Linked DNA regions of Homo sapiens: region 1 is linked to region 2. Evidence: promoter capture Hi-C in 16 types of primary human blood cells and fetal thymus (Javierre and others, 2016). All regions are on one chromosome and are shown on one strand. The core of a region is centred on a gene start or on the middle of the fragment in contact, and the rest is flanking DNA. Distances in the headings are between cores, read along the strand shown. Region 1 holds the start of NUDT19 (nudix hydrolase 19). Region 2 holds the start of WDR88 (WD repeat domain 88).

Region 1 (6,189 bases), core at 144-2,643, 440 kb before region 2:
TGTTTCCACTTCATGGGGTTTTGTAAGAATTACACAACTAATACTAATAAAGTTCCTAGTGCCTCACACACTGTACCCAGTAACTACTAATATTATTATCCCCTAGGATTATTATTACTCCTAGTATTGAAGACATGTTACTTTAATCACCTGAGTGCCTTTCTCTCCATTGCTCTGTATTTTTATTTTATTTATTTATTTATTTTTTTGAGACAGAGTCTCGCTCTGTCACCCATGCCGGAATGCAGTGGCAGGATCTTGGCTCACAGCAACCTCCACCCAGATTCAAGTGATTCTCCTGCCTCAGCCTCCTGAGTAGCTGCAACTATAGGCGCGGGCCGCCACACCCAGCTAATTTTTGTATTTTTAGTAGAGGCGGGGTTTTGCCATGTTGGCCATGCTGGTCTTGAAGTCCTGGCCTCAGGTGATCCGACCACCTCGGCCTCCCAAAGTGCTGGGATTACAGGTGTAAGCCACAGCGCCTGGCCAGAGACCAGGTCTCTTCAAACAAAAAAACAAACAAAACCCCTAAATATTGACAATGTCATCTGTGGATTCTACCCAGGAAATAACCCACATTAAAATGATGGTTTGTGAGGGTCGGCAGGGGTATAGTGTATTTCATCCAAAAACATAACAAATGTGTGATCCAATTATAATAGCAATTATGGGAAAAGCTGTCGGTGACTGATAAGGAGTTATAAAAGAAAAGACTCAAATTTACACAGGCTTTTCAAAAGATCATAATCCTGCTATTGGAGGTGGAAGTCTTCTAGACACTAACAAGGTGGAGAGAAATCTCCATGTGGAGGCCCAGATTAAACATCTCCCATCAAAGTGGAACTCGTCAAATGTCCTAAGACACCTAAGGCCGTCCCCAGGCGCCCTGACAATAAAAGGTAACCAGAACACGAGAGAAATTACTCTGGGAGTACCTTTCACATTCAAGGTGTGCAGTAGGAAATTTATAAATTGGCATCTGGCTCGTCCATTCATTTCTCATTGGTGTGGTTCACGTGTGCTTGCAAAGGTCAGACTTCTGCCCTTCGAATGTCCTCTCTCCCTCTCCCACAGAAAACACCCACATGTGGGTCCTTGTTTAAAGCAGAAAGTCCTAGTCCTTAGCTTTTAGTGAGGTGGATGTCATCAGGCCTGGGTTGGCATCCTGTTTTTTACCATGGCAAGTCATATGCGCCCTTAAGCATTCCTGCTTTTGGTCCAAGCTTCCTGCGTGGGAATACTGCGGTCCTCCTTTCAGGCAGCTGTGAATGACAAACGGTCGCTGGCTGCCGTGACACCCATTGTCCCGCGAGAGTGCCCTAGCTGGGCCCCAGTGCACTCGAGGCGGTCCCTGCTCGGGTGCCCCTCCCACAGGCAGGCGCCGTTGCCGACCAAACGCCCAGGTTCACCCAACGCCAGAGGCTCGTCCTCAATTCCCGCGAGGCCCCCGGAGGTGCTGGGGTCCCTGCAGGGCCGGGCCACCTGCCGTGGAGCTCAGGCCGCGCCAGAATCGGATCCGGGAAGCTGCGCGCCATGAGCAGCTCCCTGCGGCCGGGCCCCAGCCGCTGGCGGCGGGCGGCCAGCATCGTCCTGGCGGCTGGCTGGTCGCGCCCGGAGACCGCCACCCCGCCGTCGCGCCCGCCGCCGGCCGAGGGCTTCCGGCTGCTGCTGCTGCAGCGCTCCCCGCACCAAGGCTTCATGCCGGGCGCGCACGTCTTCTCCGGCGGAGTGCTGGATGCGGCCGACCGCTCGGCGGACTGGCTGGGCCTCTTCGCGCCGCACCACGGGCCGCCGCGCTTCGGCCTGGGCCCGGCGCCATTCAGCCGCACCGCTTTCCCGTCGCTGCCCGACACCGATGACCACAAGACCGACAACACTGGGACGCTGCCTGAGGACGTAGCCTTCCGCATCTGCGCCGTGCGGGAGGCCTTTGAGGAGGCGGGCGTGCTGCTGCTGCGGCCCAGGACTTCCCCACCAGGCCCAGCACCCGGGCCTGGCCTCGCCCTGGAGCCACCGCCGGGCCTGGCCTCCTGGCGCGACCGCGTGCGCCAGGACCCGCGCCACTTCCTGCGGCTGTGCGCCCACCTCGACTGCACACCCGACATCTGGGCGCTGCACAACTGGAGCGCCTGGCTCACCCCTTTCTTGCGGGGCACCACTCGCCGCTTTGACACGGCCTTCTTCCTGTGCTGCCTGCGCGAGCCGCCGCCCGTCTACCCCGACTTGGCGGAGGTGGTGGGCTACCAGGTAAGGCCTGCTCAGGGCCTTGCTGCGGACCGCCAGGACGTGAGAGGGAGGACCCCTCCCAGCGGCCCAGGCCCCCAAGGGACCCCCGCATAGGCCAAGCCCAGAGAGATTAAGCAGCAAGGAACGCTTAGACGGGCTGGAAACTCTCACCCCTGTAGACCAAAGCCATGCTCTTGGTGAAGTGCTCTCTGCTTTCCTAGGCTTTGGGGTCTCAAGGCCTGGAGCCTGTCTCTCCACGTGGTTCCTCCAGCGTGGCCACTGTGTAAGCACTTGTACATGTGTAGACATAGTACATCTCCACAGCCGTTTAATTTGGTTTTCTTGGAGAACAGACTTAATATGATCCAGTCTTCCTATTTTTATTTATTTTTGGTACAGATGGGGGTCTTGTCTCTCTGTGTTGCACACCCAGGCTCGTCTCCAGCTCCTGGTGTGTCCAGAATTGGTTCCTTCCAGTGGGTTCTTGGTCTCGCTGACTTTAAGAATAAAGCCGCGGACCCTCGAAGTGAGTGTTACAGTTCTTAAAGATGGTGTGTCCAGTTTCTTCCTTCAGATGTTCAGATGTGTCTGGAGTTTCTTCCTTCTGGTAGGTTCGTGGTCTCGCTGACTTCAGGATTGAAGCCGCAGACCTTCGCAGTGAGTGTTACAGCTCTTAAAGGTGGTGCGTCAGGAGTTGTTTGTTCCTCTTGGTGGGTTTGTGGTCTCGCTGGCTTCAGGAGCGAAGCTGCAGACATTTGTGGTCAGTGTTACAGCTTATAAAGGTAGTGCGGACCCAAGGAGTGAGCAGCAGCAAGATTTATTGCAAAGAGCAAAAGAACAAACCTCCCACAGCGGAAGGGGATCAGAGCAGGTTGGGTGCTGGTGGCTGGGTGGCCAGCTTTTATTCCCTTATTTGGCCCTGCCCATGTCCTGCTGATTGGTCCATTTTGCAGAGTGCTGATTGGTCCATTTTTACAGAGTGCGGATTGGTGCGTTTACAAATCTTTAGCTAGACAGAGCACTGATTGGTGCGTTTTTACATAGTACTGATTGGTGCATTTACAAACCTTTAGCTAGACACAGAGCACTGATTGGTGCGTTTTTACAGAGTGCTGATTGGTGCATTTACAAATCTTTAGCTAGACAGAAAAGTTCTCCAAGTCCCCACTGGACCCAGGAAGTCCAGGGGCTTCACCTCTCAATCCCGCCTCTAAACAGGGCACCCCATCTGCTGTTGGGAATTGGGCAATGACTGCTCTAGCTACTTCCTGCTGGACAGGGGCAAAGAAGGGGCCCTGCAGTTGTAGTGTCCTCCAGAGGGGAACTCTCTAGGCCAGTGAAAGGGCCAGTGGGTCGGTCCAGGGGTCCTCGGTAGAAGTTGTTAGTTGAGCTCATTTGGGTTTCCGTTTGTAAGACCATCTGTAGTTTGATGGCCTTGATTCTAGAGGAAACAAATTTGACAAGGAGGTTAAAAATACAGGGCCCGAAGGCGAGTAATAGTAAAACGGCTGTCACAGGATGTAGAAAGGGGAGAAGCCATGTTGCCCAACTCCAGAGGTTGGTATAAGAGTTTGAAAGGCGTTGTCTGATTTCAGAAACCTTTTCCTGTAAATGCCGGGCGGCATCTTGCACTATCCCTGACTTGTTAGTGTAAAAACAACACTCTTCCCCTAAGGTGCAAAGTCCTCCTTTCTCAGCAGTGAGGAGGTCTAGGCCTCGGGGGTTTTGGAGAGTCACTGCTGCCAGAGTCTATTTGGGATTGTAGTTACTATCCTTACTGAATAGATTTTGTTATTTCTTGCAAACTGTCTGAGAAATACTTTGAGAGTGTGTGGTAGTAAGATAATGAAGTAGATAAACTGGCTATTCCGGTTCCTGTAGCAGTGGCCATTTCTAGCCCTATAAGTAGGGGTATCAGTTGTATGGCCCTGTGCTGATGGACTTGAGCTTTGAGGGGCACTGATAGGGTCTGATGTCCATAAGATTAGAAGTTAGGATAATATGTGTTACACTGTTAACTTTTAGCAAACTTTACTTTTGTTGAAAACCTTAAGTTTGGGATTTCAATTATTCTTTGCTATTAATAAGACCTCGTTCAGTCCATATTCACTTAAAATTGGTATAGATGGCTCCTTCCTGATTCTGTAAGTACTTTAAGGTTTGGCTGAGTGCAAACAGCTTGCACATTTGAGCAGACCAATTATTAGGCAATTTTCCTAACTCTGCTTCTGTAAGAGTTTCCTTATCACGTACTGAGTACCCATTGTGTCTTTTTCCTTAATCGCCCAGGAGGAAACATCTATCATCCTGTCCTGAAGGGGGTTCCTCCTATGTCTGGTCAGACCTTCAGATTTAGATCCCCTGTTAGGAACCTGCTGGGTTAAGGATTTTTGATAGGAAGGCTACAGGTTGTCAGTGGCCTCAGTGCTTTTGGGCTATGCCCTTGTTTACACTGACAACAAGGTGGTATTGGAGTGTTACAGGGTTACAGAGAAGACCTTCAATTATCAATTGTAGGTTTTATTTTTCATTTTTATTTTTTTGGAGATGGAGTCTTGCCCTGTCACCCAGGCTGGAGTGCAGTGGCATGATCTAGGCTCACCGCAACCTCTGCTTCCCGGGTTCAAGCAATTCTCCTGCCTCAGCCTCTGGAGTAGCTGGAATTACAGGCGCCCGCCACCACACCTGGCTAATTTTTGTATTTTTAGTAGAGACGGGGTTTCACCATGTTGGCCAAGTTGGTCTCAAACTCCTGACCTCATGATCTGCCCGCCTTGGCCTCCCAAAGTGCTGGGATTACAGGCATGAATTATATATTTTAAATTTACCCTGGCTTTTAAAGGAATAGGGTGCACTGTTTTTTCTTTACTACTTCTATCTCTTTCTCTCTGACTCCTTTGTCTCTTCCTCTCTTTCCTTCTGTCTTTGACTTTGCCTCTTTCTCTCTGCTGGTCTTTCCCTGCCTCTGCCAGCCGCTTATGCTGCCGTTCTCCCTTCTCCTTCCCCTTTTTGATGGCTTCGGCAGTGTAAGACTGCCACCTCCTTGGGTTTTTGCATTGAGTGCAATAACTCCATGATTTCCTTGTGGTATTTAATGGGGGTTCCCCCAGAGGTTAGGAACGCTCTTTCTTTACATATTGCAGCATGGGCATGTAGGATTAGATAAGCATACTTGCTATCTGTATACACGTTTTTTCTTTTTTCCTTTCCCAGTTCTAAGGCTCGGGTAAGTGCCACTAGTTCTGCTAACTGGGTGCTGGTCCCTGGGGGAAGAGGTTTACTTTCAAGTACGGTTACATCACTAACTGTGGCATAACCTGCCCTTCGTATCCCATTTTCCACAAATGAACTTCCATCGGTATATAGGTTAAGGTCAGGATTAGCTAACGGGACTTCTAAGAGATCCTTTCAGGCGGCATAAGTCTGGACTACTACCTGTTGGCAGCCATGCTTGACCCGCTCCCTATCCTCTGGGAGAAAAGTGGCAGGGCTGAGGGCCACACATGTATGCACTTGAAGCACTGGTCACTCAAGGAGTAGTGCCTGGTATCTAAGCAGGTGGTTTTCTGATAGCCATAAACTTCCTTTGGCACCTAGTTTGCCATTTACATCATGAGTAGTCCAGACAGTGAGATCCTTTCCTTGTATTATTTTGATAGCCTCTGACACTAAGACAGCCACTGCCACAACTACCCCTAAACAGTTAGTCTAGCCTTTTGCTACTGTATCAGTTTCCTTAGGTATGCCACTGGTTGTGGAGTTGTCCCATGAGTCTGAGTAAGGACCCCAAGAGCTATTCCTGCTCTCTCTGTGACGTTTAAAGAAAAGTTTCGTCCTGTGGGAAGGCTTAAGGCTAGAGCTTGAGTTTGTTCCTTCCAATGCCCAGACTTCAGGGTTGATTCCCTCCCCAAGCAGGGGACAACAAATGGGTAACTTGTTCCCCATATTCATGTAGATAATAGC
Region 2 (6,923 bases), core at 4,351-6,850:
TTAACCTTTCATTGTATTGAATTAAGGAGGAAAAAATACATTTGTTTTCCCCCACCACTATTTGTTTTTTACAGAAAAAGAAACACAGGAAGCACAAACACAAAGGCAAGCAAAAGAATAAAAAACCAGAGAAAAGTAGTAGCTCCGAGAGTTCCGACAGCAGCGACAGCCAGAGTGACGAGGAAACCGCAGACGTGTCGCCCCAGGAGCTGCTGAGACGGTGGGTAGTGGGAGATGGAGGGTTTTTCAGAAACCTTTAGAGGCTTATTGAGTGCTTGATGTGTTTGCTTAGAGGCAAATATCAGAAATGAAAAACTGGTAGGCCGGGTGCAGTGGCTCACGCCTATAATCCCAGCACTTTGGGAGGCTGAGGCAGGAGGATCGCTTGAGCCCAGGAGTTTGAGACCAGCCTGGGCAACATAGTGAGACCCCAGCTCTACAAAAACAAACAAACAAACAAACAAAAAACAAATTAGCTGGGCGTGGTGGTGCACACCTGTGCCTCCAGCTATTTGGGAAGCTGAGGTGGGAGGATCTGTTGAGCCCGGGAGTTGGAGGTTGCAGTGAGCCACTATCGTACCACTACACTCCAGCCTGGGTGATAGAGCAAGACCCTCTCCCTAAAAGAAAAAAAAAAATGTGTGTATTAACTAGGCTTTTTAAAAAGTTTGAATATCTAATTATGTAAGTGATATGTGAATATATTATCATTATGAAAATTCAGGCCAGGCGCGGTGGCTCATGCCTGTAATCCCAGCACTTTGGGAGGCCGAGGCGGGTGGATCACAAGGTCAGGAGCTCGAGACCATCCTGGCTAACACAGAGAAACCCCGTCTCTACTAAAAATACAAAAATTAGCTGGGCGTGGAGCGTGTGCCTGTAGTTCCAGCTGCTGGGGAGGCTGAGGCAGGAGAATGGCGTCAACCTGGGAGGCGGAGCTTGCAGTGAGCCGAGATTGTGCCACTGCCCTCCAGCCTGGGCGACAGAGCGAGACTCTTGTCTCAATAAAAAAAAAAAAAAAAAGAAAAGAAAATTCAGACCTTACAGCCAATGCTTAAAGGAGCCCTGACTAGTTCTCCAAACCTCTACTTTCTCCACAGTAACTTCTGCCATCAGTTTCATATGTAACCTTTAAGACCTTTTTTGTGCAACCACACACACACACATACACACTCACGTACATGGATGCACATACACATTGTTTGTTTCTTTTTTAGACGAGTCTCGTTCTGTCACCCAGGCTGGAGTGCAGTGGTGCGATCTTGGCTCAGTGCAACCTCTGCCTCCCGGGTTCAAGCAGTTCTCCTACCTCAGCCTCCCAAGCAACTGGGATTACAGGCACCCGCCCCCACACCCAGCTAATTTTTGTATTTTGTATTTTTTTAGTAGAGACAGTGTTTCGTCATGTTGGCCAGGCTGGTCTCAAACTCCTGACCTCAGGTGATACACCCACCTTGGCCTCTGAGTGCCAGGATTACAGGTGTGAACCACCATGCCTGGCCTATATACAGATTTTTGTGCACATTTTAAATATAAGTAATATAATTTTATATAGCATATATTTATAGGGTATGAATTTTATTTTATTTTTTGAGACAGAGTCTCGCTCTGTGACCCAGGCTGGAGTGCAGTGGCCTGATCACAGCTCACTGTAAACTCTGCCTCTCCGGCTCAAGGGATCCTCCCACCTCAGCCTTCAGAGTAGCTGGGACTGTAAGTGTGCACCACCACACCCAGCTAATTTTTTTAAAAAATCATTTTTTTTGAGACAGAGTCTTGCTCTGTCACCCAAGCTGGAGTGCAGTGGCGCGATCTTGGCTCACTGCAAGCTCCACCTCCTGGGTTCACGCCATTCTCCTGCCTCAGCCTCCTGAGTAGCTGGGACTACAGGTACCCGCCACCACGTCCAGCTAATTTTTTGTATATTTAGTAGAGACGGGGTTTCACCGTGTTAGCCAGGATGGTCTCAATCTCCTGACCTGGTGATCCGCCTGCCTTGGCCTCCCAAAGTGCCGGGATTACAGGCGTGAGCCACCACACCCGGCCTAAAAAAATCTTTTTTGTAGAGATGGGATCTCCTATGTTGCCCAAACTGGTCTCGAACTCCTGGCCTCAAGTGATCCTCCTGCCTCAGCCTCAGGCGTGAGCCGCTGCGCAGGCCTGCTCTTGCCAGTTTTATCTTTATTGGGAAGAAGGGTGTTGTGTGAATTCTTTGAGTGTCTGGCTTCTGAGATTCCTTCAGATGATGGTAGGCAGCAGTGAGGGGCTTGTAGTCATTGCTGTGGAAGATTCCTTCTTGTGAGCACACCACGGTATGTTTATCTCTTCTGTTGTGTGGATACTGGGTTTTTTACTTTGAGTCTGTGGAGCAGGGATTTTCAGCCAGTGTGACCCAGCTCTGTTTCAAATAGAACTGCCACGAACATTCCTATATGTATGAAATTCAGATTTAGGCCAGGTGCGGTATCTCACGTCTGTAATCCCAGCACTCTGGGAGGCCGAGGCAGGCGGATCATGAGGTCAGGAAATCGAGACTATCCTGGTTAACACAATGAAACCCCAAACCCCATCTCTACTAAAAAAACTAGCCAGGCGTGGTGGCACGTGCCTGTAGTCCCAGCTACTCAGGAGGTGGAGGCAGGAGAATCGCTTGAACCTGGGAGGTGGAGGTTGCAGTGAACCGAGATCGCGCCACTGTACTCCAGCCTGGGTGACAGAGACTCTGTCTCAAAAAAAAAAAAAGAAAAGAAATTCAGATTTAAGACTGACAACTTGGGGGCTGGGCATGGTGGCTCATGCCTGTAATCCCAATACCTTGGGAGGTCAAGATGGGAGGATCGCTTGAGCCCAGGAGTTCAAGACCAGCTCGGGTAATATAGGGAGACCCTGTCTCTATAAAAAAATTAAAAAAAAAAAAAAGACAACTTGGATGCTTTGGGCCCTGGAGTGAATGTATTTTAGTTCCTTCCCAAGGGTCATGCAACGGATGCGGTAGGTGAGTGAAACTGAGATTAAAAATTGCTTGTATTCTCAAGGCTAAATAAGACTAGGGAAAAAAGTTGCTTTTATAAGTGGTCTTAATACGAGGTGTGGGTGAGTGAGTCTCTGTGTGTTTTCAGGGTAATAGAAGAAGCATTTTAAGAACACAGATTGGCCGGGTACGGTGGCTCATGCCTGTAATCCCAGCACTTTGGGAGGCCGAGGCGGGCAGATCACAGTCAGGAGTTCGAAACAAGCCTGGCCAACATGGTGAAACCCCATCTGTACTAAAAATACAAAAATTAGCTGGGTATGGTGGCATGTGCCTGTAATCCCAGCTACTCTGGAGGCTGAGGCAGGAGACTTGCTTAAACCTGGGAGGCGGAGGTTGCAGTGAGCTGAGATCGCACCACTGCGCTCCAGCCTGGGCGACAAAAGTGAGACTCCATCTCGGGGGAAAAAAAAAAAAAAGCACAGATTAGGCAGTACTTCATTGTGGGTTATTGTGAGTGCATTTTGTAGGTGCAGACATGCTGCTGTGATATGGGGAGGCCTGGCATTCTCAGCCTCCACGGAGCTGTTTGGTTTTTCACTTTAGCTAACTTTCCATTTCTCTCTTTTCTGTTTTCTTTTCCAGGCTGAAAAGTCTTCCACTAAGAAGGCAGTAATTGAATGCTGCCCTGGCTCGTCCTAGAATCATTTCTCCTCCATGATGGAAGCCCAGTGATTGTTCAGTTAACGCATTGTACAGAGTGTATTTATATGTAAATTCCTGCTGTAAAATAATTTTTAAAACCTTGACATTTCAAAGACTGCCTTGAAAGGTCGCAGAAATTGATTTCTATTTTTAATTTCAGTTAGTATCGGGGGAAAAAAATCCAGACTGAACAGTTTAATTAAAGTGGAATTTTTCTATTTTCTTCTTGATTTTTAAAAAATTTCCTGGGACGTTAAAAAAGAAGTTAAAAGTGAAGGCTTCTCTCTGGTTTTGTGATGAAGACAGCCTGGACTCACTGAAGGACAAGCGTGTGAGAAGGGGCGGTTGCGGCCCCTCCTGCCGTTTTTTGGGAGTGAAGCTCTTCCCTCTCTGGGTGGCTGGGTTACTGTTGGTGCCCAGGAAGCCCCATGGGAGGGCAGAGCCAGGGCCTGGCAGGGGGCCTCAGCCTCTCAGGGTAGATGTCACTAAAGTGTCTGAGACAGGCAGGGAAACCAGGCAGGAGAATGTGCACCCACAGCCTGGGTTACACGGCTGCAGCTCCCTGCTCTGAGGCCACCTCATGTGTACCAAGGAGACCTTTTTGAAAAATAAAGTGCAGACCAGGTGTGATGGCTAATGCCTGTAATCCCAGAGCTTTGGGAGGCCGAGGCGGGAGGATTGCTTGAGCCCAGGAATTCCAGACCAGCCTGGGCCACATAGAGACCCCTGTCTCCACAAAAAATAAAGTATTGAGCATTTGTATTTTACATTATGAAAGTAGCATCATAGATCACAACAATTTTAAAAGCAGAAAGAAGGAAGAGGCCGGGTGCGGTGGCCCATGCTTGTAATCCCAGCACTTTGGGAGGCCGAGGCCAGCGGATCACTTGAGGCCAGGAGTTCAAAAACAGCCTGGCCAACATGGCGAAACCTTGTCTCTACTAAAAATACAAAAAAATTAGCCAGGTCTGGTGAGCATACACCTGTAATCCCAGCTGTGTGGGAGGCTGAGGCACGAGAATCCTTTGAACCCTGGAGGTGGAGGTTGCAGTGAGCCGAAATTGCGCTACTGCAATCCAGCCTGGGTGACAGACTCTTGTCTCCACCAAAAAAAAAAAAAAAAAAAAAGAAGGAAGAAAATCACTTTTAGTTTTATCATCCAAAGATGACACCCTTCTTCAATATTTTGAATAATTCCACCCTGTCCTTTTCTAGCTATGGGGCTGTTATCTGACTGGTGGTAGCATTTTATTCCCTGTCACTGTTGTTGGGGTTGTGACAGATATTTCCCTCATCTATTATAAATGTTGTAAACCCACCCCTAATAACTGCATCTTATTTCATGCAGGGGCTACCCCATAACTTACTGACCTTTTCTGTTTTGTCATGAAGTGGGTTGGCCAGGAGCTGTACCCAGGCAGAGGACATGAAGAAATTGCCCTGTGACAGGAGCCAGGGAAACCACAGCGGAGGGCTGGAGGCTGGGGTGCTGGTTTTGCTGGCTCGGCCTGGTTCCCAGAATGCAAAGCCCATTTTTCTTTTTTTTGCAACCTCCACCTCCTGGGTTCAAGCCATTCCCCTGCCTCAGCCTCCCATGTAGCTGGAACTACAGGCGCACGCCCCCATGCCTGGCTAATTTTTGTTATTATTTTTTTTAAGTAAAGATGGGGTTTCACTAAACCTGTTGGCCAGGCTGGTCTCCAACTCCTGACCTCAGGTAATCCGCCCGCCTCGGCCTCCCAAAGTGCCGGGATTACAGGCGTGAGCCACCGCGCCCGGCTGCAAAGCCCATTTTTCTATAGGTAACCTGTGCTGCGCGGGGTGGCACTAGTTTTCACCCAGCGGGCGAGGAGGCAGCGAAGTCGCGGGCCCAGCGTAGCGCGCGCCTCCGAAGGGCTTGGTGCGGGCGCGGGCGCGGGCGCGCGGCGCCACCGTTCCCATCCAGGCTTGTCGGCGGCCACCGGCGGACCGGGCTTCGAGATGGCCTCCCCGCCGCGGTGCTCCCCGACAGCCCATGACAGGGAATGCAAGTTGCCGCCACCCTCCGCCCCCGCCAGCGAGTATTGTCCCGGCAAGCTGTCCTGGGGGACCATGGCGAGGGCCTTAGGCCGCTTCAAGCTGTCGATCCCGCACACGCACCTGCTGGCCACCCTCGACCCCCTGGCCTTGGACAGGGAACCACCACCGCATCTGTTGCCTGAGAAGCACCAGGTGCCGGAGAAATTGATCTGGGGCGACCAGGACCCTCTCTCCAAGGTCAGAACCGCCGCTGGGGTGAGGGGGCACTGGCCTGTTCCCCACACGGGAGGAAGGCGCTCGAGCTGTCGGGGGACCCATGGAAAACCCACCTGGCTTCACCAGGACCCCCAGCGAGGCCCTAGGCCCATTTCCCCATCTGTGGTACATCTGTGGGCAAAGGTCAGACCCACCTGAGCAGGGCGTGCTGGGGATGCCGGCGGGGGCTCCCCGCACTGCCACCTGCTGGGGAACCAGGACTCTTCGCTGGGAGGAGGCTCTGCCCCACCATGTGACCCCATCTAGACCTTGGAGTCTCCGTAGGTAGGCCCACCCACAGTGATGCTCCTAATTGCAGCCCAAGGGTCGGTGGCTCAGCTCTCCCCGTCCAGGAGATACAGTTAGCGTCAGAAGAAACGGGAAACTCAGAATAATAATAACAACAATGAATTGGGCCAGGCAAGGTGGCTCACACCTGTAATCCCAGCCCTTTGGGAGGCCCAGGTGGGAGGATCACTTGAGCCCAGGAGTTTGAGACCAGCCTGGGCAACATAGTGAGAGGTCGTCTCTACAAGAAATAAACTTAGCCCAGTGTGATGGGGCGCACCTGTGGTCCCAGCCACTTGAAAGGCTGAGGCAAGAGGATCCCTTGAACCCAGGAGTTTAAGGCTGCAGTGAGCTATGATTGTGCCACTGCACTCCAGCCTGGGCAACAGAGCGAGACTGTCTCCAGAATAAATAAATAAATAAATAAATAAATAAATAAATAAATATAGAGAGAGAGAGAGAAAGAAAGAAAGAAAAAGAAAAAGAAAGAAAGAAGGAGAAAGAAAGAAAAACTGGCTGGGTGCAGTGGCTCATGTCTGTAATCCCAGCACTTTGGGAAGCCGAGATGAGCAGATCACTTGAGGTCAAGGGTTCGAGACCAGCCTGGCTAACATGGTGAAACCCTTTCTCTACTAAAAATGCAAAAATTAGCCAGGCATGGTGGTGCGTGCCTGTAATCCCAGCT

Evidence for each region. The method cuts DNA at HindIII sites, captures the fragments that hold promoters and counts their contacts. A CHiCAGO score of 5 or more calls a contact.
Region 1: the fragment with the promoter of NUDT19 here is called in contact with the fragment with the promoter of WDR88 in region 2 in 2 of 17 cell types (total CD4 T cells and erythroblasts); the score reaches 7.1 in total CD4 T cells.

What each region holds. Positions count from the first base shown.
Region 1 is chr19:32,690,428-32,696,616 of GRCh38, forward strand. It overlaps NUDT19 (nudix hydrolase 19), which reads left to right and starts at 1,394. Exons shown (of 3, transcript NM_001105570.2): 1 at 1,394-2,247. The coding sequence starts at 1,534. NUDT19-DT (NUDT19 divergent transcript) reads right to left here and starts at 1,869. Exons shown (of 2, transcript NR_186320.1): 1 at 936-1,869. It overlaps LOC124904690 (a long non-coding RNA gene), which reads right to left. Exons shown (of 2, transcript XR_007067226.1): 2 at 2,538-3,667. RefSeq lists a silencer at 1,357-1,766. The HindIII fragment of the contact is 6,189 bases long and covers 1,222-6,189 here.
Region 2 is chr19:33,126,514-33,133,436 of GRCh38, forward strand. It overlaps WDR88 (WD repeat domain 88), which reads left to right and starts at 5,601. Exons shown (of 11, transcript NM_173479.4): 1 at 5,601-5,932. The coding sequence starts at 5,657. GPATCH1 (G-patch domain containing 1) reads left to right here. Exons shown (of 20, transcript NM_018025.3): 19 at 75-220; 20 at 3,617-4,029. The coding sequence ends at 3,647. RefSeq lists enhancers at 800-969, 5,438-5,607 and a silencer at 2,536-2,680. The HindIII fragment of the contact is 21,697 bases long and covers 1-6,923 here.